Regions from separate parts of the Homo sapiens genome. Here region 1 is linked to region 2. Evidence: promoter capture Hi-C in human tissues and cell types (Jung and others, 2019). All regions are on one chromosome and are shown on one strand. Each heading gives the region's core, a stretch centred on a gene start or on the middle of the fragment in contact. The rest is flanking DNA. Distances are from core to core; before and after follow the strand shown.

Evidence for each region. Contacts are between HindIII fragments. The study calls those that stand out against the background at their distance.
Region 1: a fragment that was not itself captured here is called in contact with the fragment with the promoter of SCIMP in region 2 in 1 of the 25 tissues and cell types used here (IMR-90 fibroblasts).

The regions. Positions count from the first base shown.
Region 1 is chr17:5,091,886-5,096,440 of GRCh38, forward strand. It overlaps ZFP3 (ZFP3 zinc finger protein), which reads left to right. Exons shown (of 2, transcript NM_153018.3): 2 at 1-4,489. The coding sequence ends at 1,128. Among named protein-coding and RNA genes, the nearest start is that of ZFP3, 16 kb to the left of the region's middle. The HindIII fragment of the contact is 4,063 bases long and covers 1-3,282 here.
Region 2 is chr17:5,233,159-5,237,719 of GRCh38, forward strand. SCIMP (SLP adaptor and CSK interacting membrane protein) reads right to left here and starts at 1,702. Exons shown (of 5, transcript NM_207103.3): 1 at 1,577-1,702. The coding sequence starts at 1,597. ZNF594-DT (ZNF594 divergent transcript) reads left to right here. Exons shown (of 6, transcript NR_152840.1): 6 at 1,956-2,845. RefSeq lists enhancers at 1,944-2,143, 4,089-4,388. The HindIII fragment of the contact is 19,973 bases long and covers 1-4,561 here.

The DNA of each region.
Region 1 (4,555 bases), core at 1-2,500, 140 kb before region 2:
TCTAACAAAACACAGAGAAGTTCTGTGGGAGAAAAGCCTCATACATGTAAAGAATGTGGGAAAGCCTTTAATCAGAACTCACATCTCATCCAGCATATGAGAGTTCATAGTGGAGAAAAACCCTTTGAATGTAAAGAATGTGGAAAGACATTTGGAACTAATTCAAGCCTTCGACGGCACCTGAGAATTCATGCTGGAGAAAAACCCTTTGCTTGTAATGAATGTGGAAAGGCCTTCATTCAGAGTTCACACCTTATTCACCATCATAGAATTCATACTGGAGAGAGACCCTATAAATGTGAAGAATGTGGTAAAGCCTTCAGTCAAAATTCAGCCCTTATTCTACACCAGAGAATCCATACTGGAGAGAAACCATATGAATGTAATGAATGTGGGAAGACCTTTAGGGTTAGTTCACAGCTTATTCAGCATCAGAGAATTCATACTGAAGAAAGATACCATGAATGCAATGAGTGTGGCAAAGCCTTCAAGCATAGCTCAGGCCTTATTAGACACCAGAAAATTCATACTGGAGAAAAACCATATCTGTGTAATGAATGTGGGAAGGGCTTCGGGCAGAGTTCTGAGCTTATCCGGCATCAGAGAATTCATACAGGGGACAAACCCTATGAATGTAATGAATGTGGGAAAACTTTTGGCCAGAACTCAGAGATTATTAGACATATTAGAATTCATACTGGTGAGAAGCCCTATGTATGTAAGGAATGTGGGAAGGCCTTCAGGGGGAACTCAGAACTTCTTAGACATGAGAGAATTCACACTGGAGAGAAACCCTATGAATGCTTTGAGTGTGGAAAGGCTTTCAGGCGGACCTCTCACCTTATTGTCCACCAGAGAATTCATACTGGAGAGAAACCCCATCAATGTAATGAGTGTGCAAGAACCTTTTGGGATAATTCTGAGCTGCTTCTCCACCAGAAAATTCATATTGGAGAGAAACCTTATGAATGTAGCGAGTGTGAGAAAACATTTAGCCAGCATTCCCAACTTATCATACATCAGAGAATTCACACTGGAGAGAAGCCTTATGAGTGCCAAGAATGTCAGAAGACTTTTAGTCGGAGCTCTCACCTCCTCCGACATCAAAGTGTTCACTGTATGGAGTAATCTGCAAAATAGGAAAGCTTTTAGTGGAAAAGCTAAAGTCCAACTTATTCATTTGTTCATAATATGCAAATATGCACCCCAAGTATTCAAATCCAATGAATGGACAGAACCTCCTCTGTCCTCCCACTGATTTTAAATAGTTGGTTGAAGAAGATGAGGCACTTTTTTTTTTTTTTTTTTAAGCATTGGGGTCTTGCTCTGTTGCCCAGGATGGGATGCAGTGGCACAGTCGTAACTCACTGCTTCCTTGAACTCCTGGGCTCAAACAGTCCTCCTGCCTCAGCCTTCCAAATAGCTAGGACTGCAGGCACTAATGAGGCACTTTTATGAATTATTCATTGAGAGGTTTCAGTGTGCTAAGTTAAATCATAAAAGCTCTTTCAGGCCTTAATTTCCCCTCTGTCCTTCCTTCCCCTTCTCCTCCCCCAGTGGATCACATAACAAACATTAAGGGTCTGTACCAGCCATCTTTCCTAAATTACTCTTCAGCAAAATTGTGGGAACAGGATTCCACCACCTCCTAAGAATGAGAGTTGACTCATTGACTGTTACCCCCTGAAATATTAGAAAGTCATAATTTAGAAGACACACCTCATTCTCCTGTCCACTGTTTAGCATTGGAATAATTTAGTAAGCTGTTATTAGCTTCAAAGTCGTCCAGCCCTGCTATGAAGTTACTTTAGAAGATGGCAGCATTAATGAAGAAGCAGGCTCATTTCACATCTGTCAGGCTTCCTTATTCATCTGAAGAGGCTGCCATGATGGAGGAACTGACAGGCAATTTACAACGGGATTATAAGTGAAGGCCTTAGAATCCAGAGGGGCCGATTAGGCAACACCAGGGGATAAACAATTGAGGTCACACTGCTCGGCATGGGCAGAAGCAGCTCTTCAGGAGCTGTCCACACTTCAGGGGTGCTCAGACTGACTGCTCCTAAGAATTCTGCTGCATATATTTTTAGCCCCATCTCCTGCCACTGCTGACAGATATTGTGACAGTAAGTAGCAGACAGGACTGTGGCTTCACCTCCTCCGGGCACCTGGCTACAGTGATGAGTCAGTTCACCTGATGACAAACCAGGGTCTGGCCTTGCCAAAGCACTTAAGTTCTCATGACCTGGACCGCACTGGAGGCCCTGGCTAAGTCAGGATGTCGTAGCCTCTTCTTGGTTTTGCCCCTTGGCCTTGAAATTCTTTTTTCTTGAATAACTTTAAAAAAATAGAGATAAAGTCTTGCTATGTTGCCCAGGCTGGTCTTGAATGCCTGGGCTCCAGCAATCTTTTTGCCTCAACTTCCCAAAGTATTGAGATTACAGGTGTGAGCTACCATGCCCGGCCTTGAAATTCTTTCTTCGCTATGTCTGCATGTTTTTTGTGTTCTGTATTTATTTCTTCTCCAAGGAAACAGCCTACATTTTCCATGTGTCCATGTTTCTGAGGCCGTGGGTGACAGTGGGAATTGCACTAATGGGGGCCCAACAGGCCTGGGGGCTGGTCTTAGCGCTAGACCTTGAACAAGGCACTTCACCTGCTGGTCTCCAATTTTCTCCTCTGTAAAATGAAAGAGTTGAACTAAGTGATCTCAAAAGTTTCAACCAGCCCGATAATTCCTTAATTCTTTAAAAATTTAACTTTATATATCTTTATTATTCTTTAACCTCATCTTTGTTACACTAATATTAGTCACTAATATTTATTGAGTGTTTACTACCTGACAGGCAGAGTGCCAGTTTACATTTTAATTTTCACATCATTTCTATGATGTGGGTACTCATTTTTTTAAAGCTTTATGAAGGTATAATTTACGTACTATAAAATTCACCTGTTTTAAGTGTTCAGTTGAATGATTTTTAATTTACATAGTGGTGCAACCATCAATGATGTGGGTATTCTTACCCCAATTTAAAAGATAAGAAGGGGCAGTGTTAAGTAATTGACCCATGATTCCACAGCTAGTAAGAGCGACAGCCAAGACTCCAAACCTGGTTGATGCTCTTAACCACTGTGCTATGCCGCAGGTAGGCAGATTCATTACTGCCTTATCTGAAACCCTTTGCACAGTTTCTATTACTGATTTCTATGTAGATTTGAATATAACAAATTTAAATCATGTCCTTGGTAACAGAACTGATCACAGCCAAAAAAAATTCACCAAATGGGTTTATTCTGTACTCCAATATAGGTGTCTTCCCAGGTTTATATCCTTGGCTTGAGAAAAGGGTTGTACAAATAGATGATTGCAGAGTTTCCACATCCTTCCAGATACCTCTGCCTCTAGCAGTCACACTCTTAGTAAGGGAAGTTGTTTGATTTACTTCTTCCCTTAGGTTGATTACAAGTGAAGTGCGCCGTCTTATTCCTTTTTCATTGCTGGAGCACAAATTGAATTGTGCCCAGACCGTATCTTTCTCACATGAAACCTGGATCTCACCTATCCCTTCCATGCCTGATTCCCGTGTTTGCATATTTTATTTCCACATTTACCTCTTGTCAGCCCTGACAGAGAATTTGGCACCCCTTCAAGCTTCTCCTAAACAATCTATGCACACAAACACCCCTGAGCAATATGGACTTCACTGAAGATAGTGTGTAAGCAAAGGAGAAGAGTTCACATTGTGCATCCTATTAGACATTTTGTTCTCAGAAGTACCTTACTGGCCAAACCAATGAAGGTTTTCCTCTTGTCCTCCCCTCTCAAGGCTCAGTCACCTCAACTTCTTTTTGCCTACTAGATATCCAATCCATCACCTCGCCTCCCCTGGCCCTAGCTCAATTACCCTCTTAAACCCATTCCTGCTCAGCAAAACTTCCTCTAGTTCACCATTCATTCATTTGAACATTAGGAGGCAATTTAGTGACCTGTTGTACCTGACCATGTTCTTAAGGGGGAGGTCTCACGTCTCATTCCCAGAAAAGTCTACCATATATAGATACATATTCCCCGCCCCGCCCCAGATTTCTGGTGAATGAAATCACTTGTATCTTATTAGGTACATATACGCAAATCCTTAACCTCAATTCTCTGTCCTCTTCATGTCTTACCCAGATATCTCAGGAAGATTTCTCTTTTCCTTCTGTTTGCCTCCCTCTTCGACTTACTTGGGAGTCAGCATCTGACCACAGTCGTGACTGGTAATGATGATTTGTGCAAATACTATCAAGGAAAGGACATGAATTGTCTTAATTTTAGACCCATTAAAAAACCGCACAGGCCTCAATCTTAAAAGTCCTATCTAAATACCCAGAAATACCCTTCAGAATTTTTGAAGCTATGCCCATGTACAAAATTTTCTTCCTTCCCTAATTTTAATGGTATACTAACACCTTAGGTAAATAAAATATTTCTTTACTATTTTATTGATACAATGCCTTTGTCATGTTTATTCCAAATTGCATTATGTTTCACTATGGATTTAATAAGGACTTT
Region 2 (4,561 bases), core at 452-2,951:
TTCTGGAAAAGACCGGAAACCTTGCCTCATTCCTCTTTCTCCCATGGCCCCATCCCCACCCCGCTTCAGCCCATCAGCCTCCAAATGTAGTCCAAGTCCTCATCTCTGTACCTGGACCATTGCATTTTCGCTGGCCCCTAGCCCCCACTGGGCTCCCCACTGGCTGCCAAATACCAGTGTGACCCTGTCCCTTCCTTGCTTTAAGCCTCTCAGTAGTTTGTTTGTTTGTTTTTGAGATGGAGTCTTGCTCTGTCACCAGGCTGGAGTGCAGTGACATAATCTTGGCTCACTGCAACCTCCACCTCCCGGGCTCAAACGATTCTCCTGCCTCAGCTTCCCGAGTAGCTGGGGCTATAGGCGCCCACCACCATGCCCAGCTAATTTTTGTATTTGTAGTAGAGACAGGGTTTCACCATGTTGGCCAGGCTGGTCTTGATCTCTTGACCTTGTGATCTGCCCACCTTGGCCTCCCAAAGTGCTGGGATTAGAGGCGTGAGCCACCATGCCCCGCCTGCCTCTCAGTAGTTATTTACCACTGAAGCAGAGTGAAGCCTGTGCTCCACATTGCTTCATGGCCAAGACCTCAGGGACAAGTGGACACACCAGGCAGTGGGAGTGGATATGGCAAAGCCAAACCCAGATCTCTTCTCAAAATAATTTTCCAGAGGGCAAAAGCAGATGGCTACACCGAGAACTCACGCCAGCCCAACACACTTTGATCTCGAGGCCTCTGGAAGGGAAGGTGCCTAATGAACTACTGAAAGCCAGAGATGCAATGACAAAGGTACCAAGACTGGAGGTGATCCAGGTCTTTCATCCAAGAGCCCCAAGACGTAGCCTAAATTCATGCTACGGTAATCCCAGCACTTTGGGAGGCCGAGGCGGGCGGATCACCTGAGGTCAGGAGTTCGAGAGCAGCCTGGCCAACATGGTGAAACTCCGTCTCTACTAAAAATACAGAAATTAGCCAGGTGTGGTGGCGGGTGCCTGTAATCCCAGCTACTCAGGAGGCTGAGGCAGGAGAATCGCTTGAACCCGGGAGGCGGTGGTTGCAGTGAGCCGAGATCACGTCACTGCACTCCAGCCTGGGCGACAAGAGCGAAACTCCATCTCAAAATAAAATAAAAATAAATAAATTGACACAGTCAGTGCCTCGCTCCCACCCCCACCTCCAGCATAGCACCATGACAGTCTTCTCACATAACAAGTCCCAAAACACACCATCGGCATCCAGAAAGTGAGAGTAACTCGTTACAGTTGAGACCTCTCACTCCCGGTCATTATCTCATTTCAATCCAAGAGGTAGACTTCTTCATCGCCCCTGACATACACATGAGGAAAAGGCCCAGAGAGGTGAAGTGATGCCTCAGGTCACTCAGCCAGTTACCAGTAGAGCAGATCCTTCAATGCAAGTTTTTCTCCAACCCTACACAGCAGTCGTACCAGGGCCCCAGGCTGCAATCCCCTGGCCCAGTGCTGATCGGTGGCTCCCAGGGACACGCCCTGATGCCAGCGCTGGCAGATGTCTGCTGTGAAGAGAGCAGGAAACTGTCCCTTGGAAAGCTGAGATGCTTACCTGAACTGTGAAAGTATCCATATGTGAGCAGCTAAGGAGACAGCAGTGGCTGGAGTGCTGCAGCTCAGGCACAGCTGGTGAGAGGCATTCCTCACTCACAGGCCTTCACCCACTGCTAGAGACAGTGAGCCCCATCCTGACCACTTCCCCTTTCTAGTCAGCCCACGGGGCAGAGACCCTGGCGTCATCTCTAGGCAACCATCCCTTTTCCAGGGAAGCTCATGACCCACGGCTGTCCAGAAGCCAGAATCTTCTCACTGCCCCGTGTCGCTCCCGCAAGGCCTACCAGAGGACCCTCATGGTGTGGTAGGGGGTCCTGGCAGGGGCCAGGGGCCAGGGTGGAGACTTGGCAGTGGGGGTGGGTTTGGTGTCCCCACAGACGAGTTTGCCGTGAGCATTCCTGGATGTGGCAACCTCAGTCTCAAGAAGAGCGACAGGACGCCAGCTCCCATGCAGAGACAGATCCAGGTAAGAAACCAGCTCATGTGTGACAAACTCACCATCTCACCATGAAGGTGACTCTTGAAAGCTCCTGTGCACCTTGGAACTGCTGAGACATCTTCTGCTTGGAGGAGGCAAGGGACAGGCTTCCTGTTTCTAAAGGCGTGTGAGTGGCGACCTTGAGAAATGTGGCCAGTGGAGCATTTTGACTGAGTTGGGTCCCCTCGTGCAATACTGTGAGACAGAACTCCCAGCGAGGCCCACGGCCTCTGACCATGGGGGTTGGAGTGGGGAAACCAATTAGCCATTTTGTTGAATTGGCTGGTTCTGACTCAAATGAGCAGTCACATTAGTAAAAATAGGCAAACGGATGTGCATTGTATTTGCCCAGAGCGAATGAGTTGTTATCCATTTCAGTAATAATGATAACCAGATATGTCTGATAAATATCTGATAATGTCTGATATATGTCTGGTAAATTTAACAAACACCGGGCTCTGGCTGGGTGCGGTGGCTCACACCTGTAATCCCAGCACTTTGGGAGGCCAAGGCGGGTGGATCACCTGAAGTCAGTAGTTCGAGACCAGCCTGGCCAACATGGTGAAACCCCATCTCTACTAAAAATACAAAAATTAGCTGGGCATTTTGGTGTGAACCGGTAGTCCCAGCTACTCAGGAGGCTGAGGCGGGAGAATTGCTTGGACCCGCGAGGTGGAGGTTGCAGTGAGCCAAGATCACACCATTGCGCTCCAGCCTGGGCAACAGAGCAAGACTCTATCTCAAACAAACAAAACAAAACATCTGGCTCAGAAGATTCCTGATTTGCAGTGTTTACTAATTTCTTTTTTCTTTTTCTTTCTTTCTTTCTTTTTTTTTTTTTTTTTTGAGATGCAGTCTCACTCTGTCGCCAGGCTGGAGTGCAGTGGCTCAATCTCAGCACACTGCAACCTCCGACTCCCAGGTTCAAGCAATTCTCCTGCCTCAGCCTCCCAAGTAGCTGGGACTACAGGTGTGTGCCACCGCATCCGGCTAATCTTTGTATTTTTAGTAGAGACAGGGTTTCACCATGTTGGCCAGGCTGGTCTCGAACTCCTGACCTCAAGTGATCCACCTGCCTCGGCCTCCCAAAGTGCTGGGATTACAGAGTTGAGCCACTGCACCTGGCCAAGGCCTGAACTCTTTCTTCTTAGGCTCATCCAAAGTTTAGCTGCTAAAAAACCTTCCTAAAAGCCAATTTAAAATTTTCTTCTAGGCCGGGCACAGTGGCTCACGCCTGAAATCCCAGCACTTTGGGAGGCCAAGGCAGGCGGATCATGAGGTCAGGCGTTTGAGACCAGCCTGGCCAACATGGTGAAATCCCGTCTCTACTAAAAATACAAAAATTAGCCAGGCATGGTGGCAGGTGCCTGTAGTCCCAGCTACTTGGGAGGCTGAGGCAGAAGAATCGCTTGAACCTGGGAGGCGGAGGTTGCAGTGAGCCGAGATCGAGCCACTGCACTCCAGCCGGGGTGACAGAGCAACACTCCGTCTCAAAAAAAAAAAAAAAAAAAATTCTCTTCTGAGGGGTGAATAAATGCTTCTGTGGATAGAGCTCATCCTAGGCTAACAAAGCTGTGACTTCTTGGTTTGTGTTTCATTCATTCATTCAATAAATTACTCAATAAATTATTTTGCTAACCTTTAAGGACCTCAGTTCAGCTGTGATATAGTAAACTCTGTAGCCCTACTATTTCTAACAATGCCTTTTGCACAGCAAGTTCAAGCCTGAGGTGTCAGGTGATCAGAATTCCAGGCCCGGTTTGACAAAACTTTCTTTGTGAATCCTTCCCTTCTCTGAGCCTCAGTTTCCTTGTTGTAAAATGAAAGAATTCAATTGACAAATATGAAAGTGCTCCAGGGATTTTGCCATCTGCCTTCAAGAAAGTCCCGCAAAGTGTAGGAGGAAGTTGAAGCCATAATATGATGCAGGCTAAATACAATGACCTTCAATTTGTGCCAGACCCTGTGCTCAACAAGTAGAGACTCAGAACTGGGCAAGTCATTCATGGGTAGAGCACATGGCACATGTTCTACAGGACAGAAGGCACATAAGTTATTACTATGCAAAGTGATGAATGCTAGTGCTGTGGAAGCACAAAAGTGGGAGAGAAGAAAGGGTCTGAGTGGTAGCATTTGAACTGGGCCTTGAAGGATGTGTAGGAGCTCACCAAATGGACAGAATGTGGACAGACACAAAGCAGCCATAGTATTTGGAGAGAAAGAGATGGTTGCATGGCTGATCAAGAGTGAATGTGTTGGGCAGTCAGAGGCTTGAGAGCAAAGTTTAGGGACACACACCACGGCATCTGGATCTACCCACTTCCTTGCTATCTACATTCTTCCCCGACTCCACCATTTGTCTTTCCACCACAAGAGGAGGGCAGGAAGTTGGGGCGGTTGTGTTCTTTCTGCACATCTGAAATGCCACCTGCTGGTCTGGGCAACTAAAGAGGTCCCTGAGGGCCCTAGATTAGCGGCTGGACCAGAGGGTGTCAAGGAGAATGA